Linked DNA regions of Homo sapiens: region 1 is linked to region 2. The links are contacts of gene promoters, found by promoter capture Hi-C in blood cells and fetal thymus (Javierre and others, 2016). All regions are on one chromosome and are shown on one strand. Each heading gives the region's core, a stretch centred on a gene start or on the middle of the fragment in contact. The rest is flanking DNA. Distances are from core to core; before and after follow the strand shown. Region 1 has its middle 98 kb from the start of ERCC5. Region 2 holds the start of EFNB2 (ephrin B2).

Region 1 (5,139 bases), core at 208-2,707, 3.6 Mb before region 2:
CAAACACAGGTGGTGTTTTTTTCCTCTGCACTATCTTCCCTCTGGTAGTGTCTGCTGTTCTGACAAGGATTCTAGATTGAAGCAAAGAACATGGGAAGCCATTACATTTATCTATTGAGGATGCCATTTGGGTCTGGCTTGAGCTGGGTTCTTGTGGATGAGAAGAGGCAGAACTAGGTGGCATCTTAAGAGAACTTGCATTAGGGCAAGATAGCATTTACATTAGTGCATTGTAGAGGGAAAAGATAGTGAGTTTGTTATCAGATAGTATTGAATTAGCAGTTGCTTTCTCACTTCCTGGTAGTCTAACCTTGGATATCTTCTTTAACTCTGATTCTCAGTTTCCTTGTCTTTACAGTTGGGATGATCTGAGGATAACAACAGATCCAATGAGGCAAAAGTAGTAAGTACTCAATAATTGTGTTCCCACAGTTTTCTAAACATATCTCTATTATAGCACCCATTGCATTGCATTTGAATTGTTTATTTTCCAGTTTGTCTCCAAAATACTCAAGTCAAGTAGACTCTGAGCTTCCTTAGGAAAGCTTATATTACATATTTTGTATTCTTGCTGATTAGCACAGTATACAGAACAGATATAAATAGCTGCTGAATGAAAGAAGGAATTGATGAATCAGTGAGTAAAGATGAATTGTGGAATGAAAGAAGGATAAAAAAATAACTTGAAGGTAACTAGCCTATTTGGTTTGGGGTTTGAAGGTAGCATTTGTTAAAAGGGGGAAAACCAAGGTGGAAAGAATTCTAAGAACAGTAGAAAGTGATTGGTAGTAATAGATGTAATACTAGGCTGAGAAACAGATCTGGCCAAGAAAAAAGTTTCAATGGAGTGTTCAGAAGCCCCAGGTGAAGGTGTTAAGGAAGAAATGGGTGCTGAAGGAATGGAAGCAGCATTGGAGTCCTCAGGGTTGGCTGGAGATGCCTGTATCCACACATATAGAGTATATGCTTTCTCCCCTGAGGAGTTTATTTAGCAGAAGGTGGACATATTAGATTGCATGATACTTAAAGAACACATTTCCTATTCATCTAATCATCAAATATTTATGAATCATCCAATGTATTCTAGCAACTGTGCCCAGCATGGGAACATTGTGCTGATCCAAGTATGTATAATGTTTCCCCCTTATCAAGCATATGTTCAAAAGAGAAGAGAGTCATTGAACAAATTATCAACCAAATAAATAGGTAACTATTAATTGAGTTACAACTTGTGAAGAGAAAATATAGAGACTGTTCGCTTTTCATCAATTCCATTCTGTCCATCTTTAGTCAGAGAACGCCTGAGTTTCAGCCAGGAACATGACCAAGCATCTAGCATCTTTTGCAACTTGCCCAAGTGACTAAGTTCTGGCCAATGGTAAATAAACAGAATTATTATTATTAATTTTATTATCACTTCCTGAGTGTGCCTCAAAAAGGAATCATGTATATTCTCTTGGTCCTTCCCTGCTTCCTGCTGGCTGGAAGATAATAACTGAAACTGCAGCCTTCTACTGCAAGATAGAAACCATGAGTTGTAGACTGTAGAACTTCCCATATAGTCTTGGACTATGGATTATAATGAGGCAGAAGAATGAATTTTCATCTTATTTAAATCATTGTATCTTTTGATCTATTTATTATTGCTGTTTAGCCTATATCTTAACTAGGAAAACTACTAAAGAGGGTGTATTAGTTTGCTCAGGTTGCTGTAACAAAATACCATAGATTGGATAGTTTAAACAGAGAAATTTATTGTCTTGCAATGCTGGAGGCTGCAAGTCTGGGATCAGGATGCCAACATGGTTGGGTTCTGGTATGGGCTCTCTTTTTGGCTTATAGACAGGCACTGTCTTGCTGTGTCCTTACATCATGACTGGGATACAGAGAGAGAGAGAGAGGGAGAGAGAGAGAGAGAGAGAGCACAAGAACAAGACAGCACTCTGGCCTCTTCTTATAAGGGCACTGATTCCATCATAAGGGCCCCACCCTCATGACCTCATCTAACCCTAATCATCTCCCAAAGCCCCCATCTCCAAACATCATCACACTGGGGGCTAAGCCTTCAATATATGAATGTTTGGGGGACACAACTCAGTTCATAGTAGAGGGCAAGGGGAGGACCCAGTTTAAATGGGAGTAAAGGGACAGGAATCTCCCATGAGGAAGTATCTTTGAAGCTGAATGAAGAAGAGTGCTCCAGATAGAAGGAATAGTGTGTATAAAACCCTTGAAGGGGGAAGGAACTTGATATTTTCAAAGAAGTATGAGGGAAAGCAGGTGAGAAAAGACCGGGGTAATCCCAAATGAAACAGGAAGTCTCTGATGGGTTTTAAGTAATGGGGTACCATAAACTGATTTGCATTTCCAAAAGCTTCCTCTCTACTGGGGGGATTGGAAGGAAAAGGAATGGATGAGGGGGTATCACTCAGCCTCACGGGGGGATAATGGCAACTAGCCCTAGAGCTGTTGTTGGAGCTGGAAAGAAGTGATGAATTTGAATGATATTTTGAAAGTAGAACTAACAGGTCTTTTTAATGGATGGGATATGTGTCAGGGAGAAGCAAGGTGCTTTCAGGGTGATCCCCAAGTTTTGAGAGGGAGGAGACTAGAGGGTAGAAAAAATTGGCAGATTAAGACCACGTGTCCAATGTCTTTTGAAGATGTTATATAGAAAAAGAGCCCCAAATCCAGCATTCAGTACCCACCACTGTCGATTATTAGCCATGACCTTGGGGATGTTACAGCTTTACCAACAAAGAAAACAAGGTTTTGAGATTAAGAAACATAAAGTCAGCATTTTGAACTTAAAATTCACAGAAGTAATATGTCATAGTAGAAAGCATGGGCTGTGAAGACAGGTGTCCAGTTATATTACTTCCTTATTGGGTGACCTTGAGGAAGTCACTTAAATTACTAGAACCTCAGTTTTCTCATGTGAAAAAAAATTAGTGGGCTTGTCCTGTGGATTAAAAATGATAATTTCTGTAAAACAGTAGCAGGCTGTCTGGCATGGTAAGTGCCAAGTAGATATATGCTTAATTGCTCCAAGTAACTTACATTTAGTGTTCAATATGTGTAGAAATCAGATAATTTAATTGTATATTTATATTCCAAAACTCAGAAAGGGGAAGACTGAGAGACAAATACAGGCTGAATTGCCTGAACTGCAGCAGTCATTACACAGCCCTCTTTCTTCCCGGGTCTGAATATTGAAACTGGGAAGTGAGTCCCTGAGGGGTATTGGAGTTAGACCCTGTAACTCACTGGTCAACATGTTCTGTTTTACAATTTTCCAGAAGGTAGCAGTGATCTTCTGGAAAAGTTGTCAAGCACCAATAGTAAGCTCTGAATGCAACTTCAACAGTTGTCATTATTTTTTAGATTTTTCATTTATAGAAAGTCCATGCAGCTTCCTGGAATTTGGGGGTATTTGCTCAATGTACTGTGGGGAAGTGGTCTGAGCCTACAGCAAGAACACCACTTTCATAGTTAATAACTAAATAGTCAACAAGCGCACCCACTCAAAGGGCAAATCTGGCCAAGGTATTAGGATTTGTACTAAGAAAAATGCCTAAGGTATTTCATGGATATTTGATGAAAGTACTTGGTCATCACCATGATTTTAAATTCCAGTGACCTGGAAATTCTGAAGGATGATTTCAAAAAAGTTTTTACTCTTTTTCATCTCAGTGTGTGGTGGATGGTGCAGAATGCATTCCTTCTGTAGAGTTACCCACAGGTGATAGCCTTCTTCTCAGTGTGGCAGAGGGGACATGGTGGGAACCCCTGAGGTAGCTGGACATTTATCTGGACCTTGGTGAGAGAGCCTGGCCCCTTGGTACTTTGAAAAAATGTGCAGTTTGGATGGGAACCTTTGGAAGTCAACACTGGAGAAGTGGTGGGACTTTGCCTCCGTGGGGTGTAACTTGATCCTATTGGGAAACAAGGATTTGCCTTTTACAGAGTTTTGCCTCTATCAGATGATAATAATGAGATTCTTCAGCTTCTCCTTAGGCATTATTCTTGCACCTGTTGCTTGTGGGGCTTGAGTTTTTAATATGCTAGATGCCACTTTATGTCTCATTCCTAGTGCTGGGTTTTAGCAACACAGAAAGCAGAAAGCCTGACGTTCTACAGCCATATGCTTGCATCGTTACTTAAAGAGAAAGATAGAAAGAGCAGAAAACTCTTGATATTTGTTATTTTAATTTTTCAAACAAGAGGAGCAGAGCGAATTTCCACAAGTGAGAACAAAACTAAATCGTGCTGAAGAGAAAATCTATTCTTCTATCCTTTGGACTTATTTTTTTGTACAAGTAGATCATACGTAGGTTAAAATAATCACAAAACTTGGAATTTATCCAGTTGTATAGTGGGTAATTACAGAGTTGCTTTGTTTAATGATGTGGTATTTTATAGAAGGGCATTTTTAACCTTTGTCACTAGTGCCAAATGGAAGGGGACACAGCCCTTCATAAAAGGTATCATAATTCTAATTGCATGTAAAGTTTATTTAGAAGCAATTCATTTTTAAAGACGTGTTCCAGTTTGTGTACTTTGTTTTTAGCGGGTAAATATTGCGGACGTAAATTGGTTTGTGGTAACAAAAGTAAAGTAAGAGCAAGTGCTTGTTAATAATCTGTTTCACTATTCATATTTCCAAAGTCCAGCTCTGGCTAACAGAGACGCTGCAAATTCATTTCTAAAACACAAGGGAAGGCCTTTATATAATCAAGTGGCTCATTAGAGAAGATCAGAGGATTTCAAAGTACACTTTAAAAATCAGAACTAACGTATTGTATTTAAAAACAAGATCAAAGTGGACACCATGTCCAGAGATCTTTTGCATATATTATCCTTCCGTATTATTATCAGAAGTGACTTTCATTGACATTCACTGTAAGTCCATGCACGTACTAATGATAGATTAAACAGTTAAACCACCACATTTATTCATTTGACATGATTATTGGGTGACTTATGTGCAAAGCGGTGTGAAACCGAATACCACATATAGTGTCTGTCTTTTGTCTTTGAAATGCTGCTACTGAAGTGGCACTTTCAAAAGAGAAGTCATGACACCTTGAATGTTGTCCTGGGGCCAGGATCATTTAAAATAATTAATAGAAGTGGAAA
Region 2 (5,111 bases), core at 1,674-4,173:
CGCAAACGGCAGGCTTCCAGAAACGCAGGGCCCTCGCAGGTCTGGACATAGCTGGAAAGACAGACTCATCTTCATCATCAGAATGGGGGGGGGGAGTGGTGAGTACCTGTCACCTCCCCCCAGGACCCCCCATCTCGACACATTACAAAAAGAAGTTATTAACGTCTAAACCTTAGGTTGAAATAACTATTGTTCTACTTTTCTTTTTCTCCCAACTAGGTATTTCTAATTCTCCTACCGGATACACACAAACTAATAGTTAATATAGCGCAAAGATAAAGATACACACACCGAACTAAACGCTGAAGAGGCTAACGGAATTGCTTTCAACTAGATTTAAACAGAAATATTAAATCCTCATAAGAAAAAAAAAAACAGCCTCAAAGAGAACCGGTCAGTGAAAGTGCAGAGTGGCTGGAGCAGGCGGCCTGGGGGAGGGGCGAGGCCTGGCGCTGCGCGATTCCGCATGGAAGAGTGACCTCTGGAGGCACCGGGCGGGCAGCGGCGCCGCGGGCTCCCCGCGACCGCCTCGCCCGCCCGCCCGCCTCTCCCGGACTCCGGGACCCGCTGCTGCGCGAGGTCCTAGCCCGGCTCCTTCCGGCACCACCTGGCGCCTCCCGAGCCGGCATCGATGCAAAGATGCCGCCGCCAGTACTTCATCAGCAAATACAACAATTTACATTAAAAATATAATCCATGCAAGAGCAGACTACATGGAAGGAGGCAGAGCTAAGTAACTTCTCCGTATGAGCGGTGTTGAAAGTGCCTTCTAGCATCATACAAACATTTGTTTAAACCGATTTGTAACCGACGTTTTCGCCCTTTTCATGAAGGGATTCTTGGTTAACATGTTAGTGAATTTGAAATTTGACACTTTTAAGAGAATGGACACACTCCTTTAAGACGTGATTTCTAAATCAATCCCCCATTTCTTTTCTCCTAAAACCAGGCCCAACTTGCTCAACTTCAATTAGGCCATTGATTTTGCTTCTGATCTCAAACGTTTTCTCCAGAAACCAGCTAATGTCTGCATACTTCTTCTCCAAGTTTCCCGAGACTACAATTCCAAGATTCTGTAAAATATGTTTTGGCTGTGATTCGAAATAAGGGGATACACAGTACTGAATACCCAGATGACTACGAGTTATGACCACACAGATTTAGGGATGGATGGGATTTTCTAAATTCTGAATGCACTCTGGTGGCCCAAACTGAAAGTTACTCTCCACAAGGCCTGGCTCGCTCCCGGCTGTAGAGTCCGGTAAGAGCAAATCTGATCCTAAGGATCCCATTCCTACCAGGGTCCCGAGGGAGAAGGCTTCAGGAGCAGTGTCGACTGGGCAGGGCCCTAAGCTTTTATAGGAAGTGCATTACAATCAGGTCGGCCATCGAGACCGCATACTCCGGGGCTACCGGCTTATGAACGAAGCGGGAGGCCGAGGTGCGGCGGGCCCTCAGGGAGAAGCCTAAGGCCCGTCTCCCCGGCGCGGAGGAAAGGGCTCGACGCCCGAGTTCTCCTGCGAAGCAGGCGAGCTCCCCGCGCACCCTCGGGCTGGCGGCGCGGTGCCAAGGCGCCCCGGCTCCAGGGCTCTGCGGGCAGCGTAGCGACTCCAGGCTCCCCTCTCCAGAACGCGCTTCGCTGCCAGCGTCCTGCCACCCCGGTCGCCCGCCCGCGGGCCCCGGACCACGCCGCCCGCGCTCCCCGCGAATGCAGCATCTCCGCCTCTCTCCAGAGCCCACCAGTCCCCGCGTGCCGGCCAGCCTAGATTGTGGCCATGTCCTTCGTCCTCGAAAACAGGAGAGGGTCAGGTATCGCCATCGGACACCTTCCCGGACTTGACACCCGAGCCGATAGTAGCTTTTAGCGCCTGGGAGCGTTCGGGGGAGGAAAGGCGGAGAGACCGTCCGTTCCAGCGGGGCTCGGGTTGGAAAGCCGAGCGAGGAGTCTCCACCTAGTGAAATGGGGCGGGGGTTGGGGGTGGGGGACGGGGAACCGAGGTTCCAGAAACAGGCTCCGAGGCCCCGCGGACTGACCCCTCCTCCCGCCCGGACGGCGCGGCGGACCCCGGGGCGGGGACATAGGGGGATCGCGGACGCCACTTACTTGGAGTTCGAGGAATTCCAATAGATAGGCTCTAAAACTATCGATTTGGAAATCGCAGTTCTGCATAAAACCATCAAAACACCCCAGCAGTACTTCCACACGGAGTCCCTTCTCACAGCCATGGCGAAGCCACTCCCAGCTCCGCGCACTCCGGGCCAAGAAGGGACTGACGGGACGCAGGCTGGGACCCCCAATCCTCCGGGGCAGACTGGCGGGGAAGACGGCGTGCGCCCGCAGGCAGCTCCGAGGCGCGCTGCGCAGCTCCAGCGGTCGCCGGGCCAGGTGCGCTCGCTCTCCGGGGCCCTCAGGGCGCGGGGCGGGAGCGCACGCGCGGGGCGCGGCGGCGCGGCGGACTCGGGGTTCCGGGGCGCCGCGCCGGACGCAGCTCGGACGGCCGACTCCCGTGCGGCTCCAGGGTGCCGGGCCGGCCGCGGCTGGCGGGTGGGCGCGGGGCGGGTGCGGGCTGGGACACAAAGACCCGGAGCGGAGACGACCGGCGCGGGCGGCGGGCGCTGCGCCCCGAGCGGGGCCGCCTGTGACTATAGATCCAGTGCAGCGGGCAGCGGCCCGAGCGCGCGGGCGCCGCGTCGGCGCGGTTCCATGTCCCGGAGCACGGAGCGGAGTAGGGCGCCTCCGGGCGCGCAGGAGCCTTCTCAGTCCGCGCGGCTCCCGGCCCCCAGGGCAGGAAAGAGGGAGCTCGGTCCCCGCCGCGGGCTCCGGACGCGCGCGGGCCTTTGTGTGCGGGGAGGGCGCCGGGACCCGCTGCGTGCGCAGCTCCTCGCTCCGGCCGGCGCCGCGGTCCCCGCCGAGGAGAGTCAGCGCGGCCGCCGCGCTGTCAGAGCGCTATAAACGCGGGGCCCCGCCCCGCCGCGCGAAGCCCATTGGCCCGCGGCTCCGCGGCCGCGCGCTGGTTGGACGGCCGGTCCGTCCGTCCGCCATCCCCTCCCGACATTGGGTGCCGCGAGGCGGGGCTCGGGCTGACAGGTGAGCCCCGCCCCTGGCTCCCGCGGGCGGCGGGAGCGGAGCAGAAGCCGGGCAGGAGAAGCGCTCAGCGCGTGCACAGGGCGCCCCCGGGGCGGCGAGAGGCCTTCTGGGCGCGGTGCAGACGTGGAAACAGCGACGGCCGAGTAGCGGGCCACCTGTCTCCGCGCCCGGGGGCGCCTTCCCCCTCGGCGGAATCAGAGGGCGCGGCTTTCCCTCGAGCAGTGCGGAAGGCAGCAGGCTCCGCTCGGCGTCCCTTCTCCGCAGATGCGGCGCTGCCCCGCGTGCAAGACTTGCACTCCGCGCGCACCCTTAGAGCTCCCGGCTTCTGCGCGCTTCTCCCGACGCCTCTCGGCGAGGGCTTCTCACTTGATTTTGGTACCAATCGCCTACGGCTCAGTTTCAGTCAGTGGGGCCGGGAATTGCAAGACGATTCCTGCGACGCGGCGCCGGAATTTGCAGCTCTAATCAGGGCCTGAGCATCGTCGCCTCCCGCCTTCTCTGCGGGCGTCTCCCTTCCCTCCTGGCCCCCCGGGAAGGTGGCGCCCCTGGAGCTTTCCCCGCGTGTCGCCGGCACAGGCACGACGCGGGGACCGTCTCACTAGCCTCTAGGAGACACGCGCGCTTCCCAAAGTGACCAGAGATTTAGAGGGTGTGAGATGGAAAAGTCAAGGCATGTGCTTCTCACTCGGCGTCTGCAAGACCCCAGAGCAGAGCTGGCAGGAACTCCTCGCTACTTTCCCGGTCGAGCGCCGGTGCTGACGCTCGTCCGTGACTTCCACGGAGCCACAGCGCCCACTAGCGGCCAGCTTTGCTTCTCCGCATCTCGAGCGCTCTGCGGTCCACCGACCCGGATCCAGCATACTGCAGCATCTAATCAAGTCACAGTTCCAAGGAAAATCTTTTTATATGTCCAACAGTAGGAAGAACACGGTAGAAATAAGGCACAGTGCAAATGTACGATTCAGTATGAAAAATTAAAATATACTGTATGCCCACGTTTTTTTTCAATTTAATGCCGTCCACCCCAGGATTTATGTTTCAAACACAAACTGGGCAGTAATTCTACAAATTATGTATTTTTAAAACAAAGTATCCACTACGCTAAATTTAAAAATGCATATGGTAAAACACCTTGTTTTCTTTCACTCTTCTTTGTAACAATTTCTGAAGATTTTTATGGTACGTTGCTTTTAAGTATCCGTTTTTGAAACATTAGTCTAACTTAACGTATACATCTCAGTTGGAGTGGTAAAAGCTTGTGAAGACTAGTTTAAGATAGAAAACACATTAAGGCATACAAAGTACTGAATACACTTACTCTTCCAAACAGATCTTTGAGAGCAGAAAAGTTTCATAATTTATTTTCATTTTAAATAAGCCTTCAAACTAAATATATATATACACACATATACGTATACACACATATACACATATTTATACATATATACACATATGTACGTATATATATACACACACATATATACGTATATATATACACATATATATATGCACACACACACATATATATATAAAATTTATTTTAAAAAGGCTCCACCACGGTATGACGATTTGAACAGCGGATTCCCAGGAAGCACCAACAACCCAGGAAGCAGCAGGCACTATGACTCCTACCTTGACAAGGGTGAGAAAGGGCTAGTTTTTAGTATGCTAAAATACCATTTAAGGAACTCATTGAAATTGAATATAAAGTTAGCTTAATGATCTTTTAAAAGAACACTGGGTACTCAGTACCTTTTGACAAACTTATATTGTGAAATTTAAATTGTGACCTCTTAGCTCACTACATCCTCCTCTCCAAGTAAACTAGAGGAAATACAGGAAATTTGCATTGTCTGAAAATAAGCCAGCTTCCAAAAATAACATTTTCAGTAAATCAGAAAGTCTCACATCCAAAGCGTTTTACCTTGGGACAAATGTAAATATACACTTTAAAATCGCTTCCTTTTCAAAACAAAGTGCGTATTTGACTGAAAAGGAATCCTACACACACACAAAACATCTA

Evidence for each region. The method cuts DNA at HindIII sites, captures the fragments that hold promoters and counts their contacts. A CHiCAGO score of 5 or more calls a contact.
Region 1: a fragment that was not itself captured here is called in contact with the fragment with the promoter of EFNB2 in region 2 in 1 of 17 cell types (total B cells); the score reaches 7.3 in total B cells.

The regions. Positions count from the first base shown.
Region 1 is chr13:102,941,086-102,946,224 of GRCh38, forward strand. No RefSeq gene overlaps it. Among named protein-coding and RNA genes, the nearest start is that of ERCC5, 98 kb to the left of the region's middle. The HindIII fragment of the contact is 1,829 bases long and covers 544-2,372 here.
Region 2 is chr13:106,532,739-106,537,849 of GRCh38, forward strand. EFNB2 (ephrin B2) reads right to left here and starts at 2,924. Exons shown (of 5, transcript NM_004093.4): 1 at 2,105-2,924. The coding sequence starts at 2,226. RefSeq lists silencers at 363-422, 483-582, 2,712-3,371 and an enhancer at 3,952-4,021. The HindIII fragment of the contact is 2,990 bases long and covers 1,352-4,341 here.